3 separate regions of the Homo sapiens genome follow, and regions 1 and 2 are each linked to region 3. The links are contacts of gene promoters, found by promoter capture Hi-C in blood cells and fetal thymus (Javierre and others, 2016). All regions are on one chromosome and are shown on one strand. Each heading gives the region's core, a stretch centred on a gene start or on the middle of the fragment in contact. The rest is flanking DNA. Distances are from core to core; before and after follow the strand shown. Region 1 overlaps USP11 (ubiquitin specific peptidase 11). Region 2 overlaps UBA1 (ubiquitin like modifier activating enzyme 1). Region 3 holds the start of EBP (EBP cholestenol delta-isomerase).

What was found. The method cuts DNA at HindIII sites, captures the fragments that hold promoters and counts their contacts. A CHiCAGO score of 5 or more calls a contact.
Region 1: a contact is called between a fragment that was not itself captured here and the fragment with the promoter of EBP in region 3, in 1 of 17 cell types (non-activated CD4 T cells). The highest score is 5.4, in non-activated CD4 T cells.
Region 2: a fragment that was not itself captured here is called in contact with the fragment with the promoter of EBP in region 3 in 1 of 17 cell types (neutrophils); the score reaches 5.3 in neutrophils.

The regions. Positions count from the first base shown.
Region 1 is chrX:47,234,588-47,237,343 of GRCh38, forward strand. The region is part of intron 1 of USP11 (ubiquitin specific peptidase 11); the gene reads left to right. Among named protein-coding and RNA genes, the nearest start is that of USP11, 3.0 kb to the left of the region's middle. The HindIII fragment of the contact is 1,279 bases long and covers 651-1,929 here.
Region 2 is chrX:47,198,926-47,201,667 of GRCh38, forward strand. UBA1 (ubiquitin like modifier activating enzyme 1) reads left to right here. Exons shown (of 26, transcript NM_003334.4): 3 at 123-181; 4 at 284-452; 5 at 555-689; 6 at 1,969-2,075; 7 at 2,351-2,441; 8 at 2,553-2,685. Among named protein-coding and RNA genes, the nearest start is that of INE1, 4.6 kb to the right of the region's middle. RefSeq lists an enhancer at 1-468. The HindIII fragment of the contact is 8,151 bases long and covers 1-2,742 here.
Region 3 is chrX:48,520,558-48,523,257 of GRCh38, forward strand. EBP (EBP cholestenol delta-isomerase) reads left to right here and starts at 1,251. Exons shown (of 5, transcript NM_006579.3): 1 at 1,251-1,350. PORCN (porcupine O-acyltransferase) reads left to right here. Exons shown (of 15, transcript NM_203475.3): 15 at 1-251. RefSeq lists silencers at 92-151, 1,066-1,295, 1,356-1,535. The HindIII fragment of the contact is 9,622 bases long and covers 1-2,065 here.

The sequences.
Region 1 (2,756 bases), core at 40-2,539, 1.3 Mb before region 3:
TTTATATATGGCGAGGGGAAATAAAATTGGGGAGATGTTGGTCAAAGGATACAACATTTCAGTTAGACAAGAAAAATAAGTTCAGATCTATTGTACAACTATAGTTAATAAATTCATTGTATACTTGAAAATTACTGAGAGAAGATTTTACATGTTCTACCACCCCCCAAAAAATAAGTATGTGACGTAATGGATGTGTTAATTGCCTTGACTTAGTCATTCCACAATGTATACATAAGTCAAAACTTCATGCTGTACACTCTAAATATATGCAATTTTTGTCCATTTTAAAATAAATAAAAATACCAAAAAATGCATGTAAAGAAACAACGATTGAGCAAATGAGTAAAATATTAGATTTGGAGAATCTGGATGAAGGACATATGGGGATTCTCTGTATTATTTTTGCCATTTTTCTCAATCTATTTCAAAGTTTAAAAATTAAATAATAAATAAAAACGTGTGAATTCACCATCCATGTTAAGATTCAGAACACTGTCTTAAGAAATCCTTCTGTGCCCCTCCCAGATGGAAATTCCCCTCCTTGCTCCATGGGAAACTGTTATCCTGAATTTTGAGTTAACAGTCTCTTCCTTTTCTTTAATGTTTTACCACAGCTGTATGCATCCCTAAGCGGTATGTATTGTCTAAGCTTTCACTTTATACATATATGGAATACATATATATAAAATTCTACTGGATGCATACTGTGAGCCCTTATCTTCGCATCGGGTAATACATGGTATCCACATGGCATCATTGGTGATGTTAACCTTGATCACTTGGTTATGGTAGTGTTGGCCAGCTTTCTCAACTGTAAAGGTACCATTTTCCTCTTTACATATGCAGTAATTATTTTTAAAACATGTATCATGTCCAGCCATTCCTCAAAATACTCTTAACAGCTTCCCATCTCTTGCAGCGTAGATGCTAAAATCCTTACAATGAATTGCAAGCCTTTATGAAGCTGGTCTCCTGCTTGCATTCTGATGTCTTCCCATATCTCTCCTCTGATTACGCACTCCCTCCCTGTCTCCATCCAGGCCGGCCATATTGGACTCTTGCTGTTCCTCAAACACATCTAACCTTAGGGCTTTTTCGAGTGAGGTTTACTCACTACAGAGTTCTTTAATAACCACACCAGTGAAATGTGTATCTCTGTTACTGGGGAGATGAGTTGAGATTTTCCAAATCGGGAATACAAACCCAAGCCGTGTTTTTCTGCCATTACGTCACACTTTTCCAGCAAGAAAAAGCCTCATTTCATCCTGAGAATAAACAAAATAACCACAGTGTTTTGTAACTCATTTGAAGATGTTCAAAAGGGCCTTGAGGCTTTGATCCTTGCCTCTTCCTACCTTTGTAGCCTTGTGATTGTGTCACTGGTAGGACATGACATCCTGTCATCCTTGATAATACGCTTTAAAATTACCCCACCAGTACTGGGTTTTCTTTTGGGATGATGAAATATTTTGGAACTAGGGAGAGGTTGTGGTTGTACAACATTGTGAATGTTCTAAATGCCGCTGAATTGTTCACTTTAAGATGGTTAATGTTATGTTATGTGAATTTCACCTCATTAAAAAAATTACCACACCAGTGTTGGTTCAGTGTTGAAGCCGGTTTGTCTCTGCTGTCATGGGTATTATCATGAAGCATTTTTGCTAAACTCCACTTTGTTAATGCTTCTCTAGTAAGAGCAAAGCATCTCAAGGTTCTTTATTGCTGTCCATTTTCCATTTTACAGGGGTTTGCTTAAGTGGCCAGGATATATGTGTTTATAAAGCATTTTGAAGTCATGGACTAACCCCAAATCATATATCTTGTATCAGTATTAATATTTGCACCTTCTGTCTTTTGTCAGCTGGCAGATTTGGGTGAGGGTAGTTAATTAATTTGGTCATCACAACTGATTTAATTTCTGGGAGAAGCTTGTATTTTAAGGCAAATTCAAATCTGTAATAATATAGCCTCCTTGGAAATTTTCACTTTTTCCTTTTGTGGGATGAACCATCTTCAAACACAAATCAGACACAAGAGAAAACTAGAAGACAGAAAATAAAGAATTGTTTAGCAACTTTTTTCCATAAGCACATATTTCATATCATTTCAACAAATTTGAGGAAGCACGAATAAACCTAAGTGACTTTAGCAAGATCAGTTGTACCTGTATATACTGGCAGCAAGAAACTAGAAAATTAAAATTTATGATACCATTTATGATAGCATCCAAAAAATTGAATACCCAGCTGTAAATATAATAATTTGGGTGTTATTGATACAGACCATGACACCTTTGTTGTGACTGCCACCTGGCCTGACAGAGATTGTGAGACATCCTGATTTCAGAGATGTTAACAATGATTTTTTTAAAGTGTCTTTGACTTGAAGCAATATGGTAATAATTTTCTGTGAAAAATTATGTAAAATGTCAGTCCTCTATGAAATCTATAGAAGTTCAGCCTGTGACCAGGTCTGGAAGTTTTGCTTACCACTCTACAGCGTGATTTTAATGTTATTTTTTGTTCAAAATCTGCTCTTAAAAAGAAGTTGAGCAGTGCCTACCTTTGCATTGGAAGGTACTGTTAACTATAGCTTTACTGAACAAATTAACTTCATAGACTGGCTATGGAGGCAAGTAAAGCCACAAAGGGTGGATGGTGGTGTGTGGGGTGCAGGGTTGGGTCTGAGCATTGAGCCACCGGCACAGAAGGGTTTGTTTCCCTGGTGTGAGTGATATGGGGCAGGGTCTGTGG
Region 2 (2,742 bases), core at 218-2,717, 1.3 Mb before region 3:
GTCCTCTCCGTGGAGACTGGCAGACGAGGTGGTGGGTGGGAAAGTCTTTTGTATCACTGTCTGTCTATCCATGCTCCACTCCTGTGTGTCTCCCTAAACTTGTTCTTTTCCTCTATTCCTAGGGAATGGCCAAGAACGGCAGTGAAGCAGACATAGACGAGGGCCTTTACTCCCGGCAGCTGTAAGTGGGGCCAAGGCCGGGCTGAGGGGTGTGGAATGGGACATTGAGAGGATAAGGTTGGGTGGGGCAGGCCCTGACCTAGAGTACCCCCTAACCTGGCAGGTATGTGTTGGGCCATGAGGCAATGAAGCGGCTCCAGACATCCAGTGTCCTGGTATCAGGCCTGCGGGGCCTGGGCGTGGAGATCGCTAAGAACATCATCCTTGGTGGGGTCAAGGCTGTTACCCTACATGACCAGGGCACTGCCCAGTGGGCTGATCTTTCCTCCCAGGTACCTCTTCCTAGCACCCTTCCCCCTTTCCCCCTTCCCGAGGCACCACTGTTCCCGGTGCCACAGCCATTTCATCTTTTTCCCTACTGCACACCCTTACAGTTCTACCTGCGGGAGGAGGACATCGGTAAAAACCGGGCCGAGGTATCACAGCCCCGCCTCGCTGAGCTCAACAGCTATGTGCCTGTCACTGCCTACACTGGACCCCTCGTTGAGGACTTCCTTAGTGGTTTCCAGGTATCTTGGGGGTACTACCCAGCCTTCTGCCCAGTTTTCTCAGAGCCCATCTCTGGTTTATTCAGTAGTGTTCAATATTGATTTAATGGGTCGGCCTGAATGTCAGGTTTTGTGCTGGGGGACTAGAGTATGCAGGCAGCAGTTAGCCCCTGGCCCTGCCTTTTCTTTTCTTCTTTTTTTTTTTTTGAGACGGAGTCTTGCTCTGTCGCCCAAGCTAGAGTGCAGTGGCGCGATCTCGGCTCACTGCAAGCTACACCTCCTGGGTTCACGCCATTCTCCTGCCTCAGCCTCCCGAGTAGCTGGGACTACAGGCGCCTGCCACCACGCCCGGCTAATTTTTTTTTGTATTTTTAGTAGAGACGGGGTTTCACTGTGTTAGCCAGGGTGGTCTCGATCTCCTGACCTTGTGATCCGCCCGCCTCCGCCTCCCAAAGTGCTGGGATTACAGGTGTGAGCCACCGCACCCGGCCTGGCCCCGCCTTTTCAAGTGGGGAAGATGTGTACAGACAGTACAGCATAGTGGTTGTGGGCACAGACTGTAGAGCCATACTGCCTTGCTGCAGGCCTCCAGCCTTGGTAGTGTGACTTCAAGCAGGTTGTTTCATCTCCTGTACCTTTGTTTTCCTGTTTGTAGTCAGTGCGTGGTAGCAGCACTGACTTCATGGACTTTTTGTGAGGGTTAAACACGTGGAATTGCAGCTGGCATATAAGGACTGGATGGGTGTTTGTTAATTAAAAAGTCCAGGCCGGAAAGAGGTGCTCTGGAAGCTGAGAGTTGTCCCTGGAGTATCCCAGGTTGCCAGGGCACTGCAGCTAAATCCTGATGGAGGAGTAGGAGCTCACCCTGGTGGGGAAGGATGGACATTCAGGCAGAGAGCAAAATCCCAAAGATCATGGCGGAGCAGGCGTCGTCTTGAGAATTGGAAGCAGGTGGGTGTGGTAGGAGTGAGCTCAGACTTTGGCTGGAGACAGAGTTTTACTCCAGTGTCTCACAGGGCATGGCAGACAGACAGCAGCGGGTGTTTGTCAAATAAATGAGTCAGCTCTTCTCCAAACTCCCTCCTCCCAGCTACCTCTTCACCTTTCCTGGTATAGTCCAGGGGTTCATTTTCGACCCCCACAGAGTCTGATACACAGTAGGTGCTATGTGTTTGTGAAAGAGGCTGACCCAGCAAAGCCTGGATGTGTTTGCCTTGAGGACTGCCTGAGTCCTCCACACCAGCCCTCCATTTTTTCCCCTTCACCCCAATGCTGGGCCTGAGCCTCCATCTCTCCACAGGTGGTGGTGCTCACCAACACCCCCCTGGAGGACCAGCTGCGAGTGGGTGAGTTCTGTCACAACCGTGGCATCAAGCTGGTGGTGGCAGACACGCGGGGCCTGTTTGGGTGAGTGGCAGCCCACCTCCCTCCCTGTCCCCTTTTCCCCCAACTCCTACCAAGCCCAGGCCAAGACTCTAGGCTCTCCCTGCCCTCATCCCTTCTCAGCTACCCAGGTTTTGGGTTCTGTGTTTTCATCTCTCCCCATGTGGCACAAGTACCATCTTACATCCCAGCAGTGATAGGCTGAGTTTGCTCAGCAAGTTTTCACTACATCTTGAGGGACCCGTGGGACCTGTATGTGCATGGGACACAGGCACCAGCCCTATTGCTTCCCTCTACAGGCAGCTCTTCTGTGACTTTGGAGAGGAAATGATCCTCACAGATTCCAATGGGGAGCAGCCACTCAGTGCTATGGTTTCTATGGTTACCAAGGTAAGGAGACCAGCCCTAGGGTTCCTGGCAGGCAGGTGGGCTGCAGTAGTCCTTCCTGTCTGCTCTTGGTACCCTGGGCCTGTTTCTGAGACTCACTCTTCCTTTAACCAGGACAACCCCGGTGTGGTTACCTGCCTGGATGAGGCCCGACACGGGTTTGAGAGCGGGGACTTTGTCTCCTTTTCAGAAGTACAGGGCATGGTTGAACTCAACGGAAATCAGCCCATGGAGATCAAAGTCCTGGGTGAGCTGCGACCATGGGGGAAGCAGAGGGGAACTAGAAGATATGTTCCTGGGTTCT
Region 3 (2,700 bases), core at 1-2,500:
TACTCCTTGACCCCCTCCATCCTTGACCCCCAACACCTCAACACACACACACACACACACACACAAAATCACACCATTTTCATGCCTGTCAATCCCCACCCCACCACAAGGCAGGAAGGGGGTGGTGCCTGCTGGGGCCTAGAGGGGGATGCTTGGGGAAACAGAGAAGGGGAGATCCAGGGCCTCCCCGCCTTCCTTCTTCCTTTTTATATACAATTTGTTATTGTCAAATAAAAGTAGGAAATATTCAATAGGCTTCTTCTTCACTGCTCAGAGGGGAATAGGAATGAGTGAGGAAGGGAGCACAGCATGGATAAAGGTTTGGAAGCTGGAAACCATGAAGAGAGAGCAGACTGTGATTGGTTCATGGTTAGTTTATGATTGATTAGATGATGAGCCTGAAGATGGCAGGATCCTGGTCCTGCTTGGTTTGATCAGGGCAGGGACAGATTGCATAGTTGGATGTGGGGGAGGCCTGATTGGCTGGAAAACTGAAGGATCCCCATTCTGATTGGTTGCTCTGAGTGGGACACAGAGGAGAGAAAGCAAGAGAGATGAAGGGTTGGTGCCTATTTATCCTTAGGACTGAGGGTTGTGGGTTCTAATTGGATGGGAGGTCTGGGATGGGTCTGGATTCTGATTGATTGCTCCATCTGGGGGCCCACTGGTGGTTAGGCGTTTGATTGGCTTTTTAGAACTGGCATATGGAGATTGAGGGTCTTCATGCCAATTGGTCAGTAGGACTGAGAGGCCTGGGTTCTAACTAGTTCTTCTGACTTGAGGTCGGGAGAAGAGAGAATGACCGCTGCTATTAGGACTGAGGAGTTCTGAGCACTGAAGAGCTGGGGAGGGGGTGGTTGCAGTGTATAGCGTGTGATCTGCTTGTAACAGTTTCGTTGCATTATACTAAGGGTTACTCTACCTAGAAAAGGGCGGAGGTGAAAGGATGCAACGCAACGCTAATTTCACCAGCGGAAGAAGCGGGTACAGACCTTAATGAGTCCCCGTTTTGATCGACTGATAAGGGAATGGGGAAATTGAAGCCAGGACTCGATGCAGATTGGCTACGGATCCAAAACGCCCACTAACCTTGGCGCGTCCCAGTCTCCACCCCAAACCTAACTCAGGTGAAAATGGCGCCACGCGCGGGGGCGGGGCTAGAGGTACAAAGAGAGTGTCTATTGGTTGGGAGCGGCACGGGCCGCCTTCTTCGCTTCACCATTGGCTCGCTCCGTAAGGCAAGAGAACCCACTAGGGGATGAGCCCGAACTAGGGATGTGACAGAGCGCGAGACCCAGCCTAAAGAGAGCCCGGAGCCAGCGTGGGAGGCCGCTGCCGTCGCGCGCCTTGGTGAGTGCCCTCCACCCGGCCCCTGCTCCCTCCCCCAGCTCTCCCCGGCTACGCGGCCAGCCCTCGGCGTGCCAGCGCGAGACCCTTTGCCACCCGCCCCCCCCACCGCCCTTTTGCGCCTGCGCGAGACCCCCAGCTACCGCACGGTTGTCCAGAGGACAGAAGATCCGTCTTCTCATTGGGCAGCGGGACTGGAGGGTTCTGGTTCGGATTGACCGGCTTTGTGTTCCGTTCTAGCGCTGCACGCCAGACACCGGCCTTTCAATATCCGTCTCTTCCCTGCAGGTTGACGGCGTTGCACGCTCTCGCGGGGAGGCTCTGGCTTTCCAAACGCTGGCACCGAGGGTTGTAGTTCTGATTCGTTTTCTTTCCTCTGTCCCCCAGTTGCAGTTTTCAGGACTACGTGGGGGAGGGAATAGCTTTTTGTTGAACGGTTTAAGACGCTGACCTGTGCAACTGGACCACGCCTGGTTCCTGTGTCTCTTACCAAACCGTGACCCCGGAGCACAGGACTGGGTTTGGTGGTCGTGAGCAGTTTGTGACCCTTGAAGGAAGACACCAGGCCTGGTCCTGTATCTCCCTCGCCAGACTGTGACCAGGGAGGGCTGGGATCAGGTGTTGTTCCCATGTGCCTCCCACCAGACTTTGACCCCCGAGGGCTGAGACCGGGACTGTTTCTACCACATCATAATATGGCTTCTAAAGGGCTGGAACAAGCTTTCAGCCTTTCTGTGGCCTTGTGTTTCAGTCATGTTCTTTTTCTTTTCTTTTTTATTTTATTTTGAGACAGAGTCTCGCTCTGTTGCCCAGGCTGGAGTGCAGTGGCATGACCCCGGCTCACTGCAGCCTCTGCCTCCCAGGTTCAAGCGATTCTCCTGCCTCAGCCTCCTGAGTAGCTGTAACTACAGGCGCACGCCACCACACCTGGCTAATTTTTGTATTTTTAGTAGAGACGGGGTTTTGCCATGTTGGCCGGGCTGGTCTTGAACTCCTGAGCTCAAGTGGTCCACTCGTCTTGGCCTCCCAAAGTGCTGGGATTACAGGCGTGAGCCACCGCGCCCGGCCTTCTTTTTTAGAGGCAGAGTCTCAGACTGGAGGGCAGTGATGTGGTCACTGCTCACTTCAGCCTTGAAGTCCTGGGCTCAAAGCGATCCTCCTGCCTCAGCCTACCTACTAGCTGGGACTACAGGCCTTTGTCACCACACCTGACTGATTTTCTTATTTTTTTAGAGACAGTTTCGCTGTGTTGCCCAGGCCGGACTTGAATTCCTGGCCTCAGGTGCTGCTCCTGCATCAGCCTCCCAAAGCACTGGAATTACCTGCCACGGTGCCTGGCCTTTAGTCATGGTC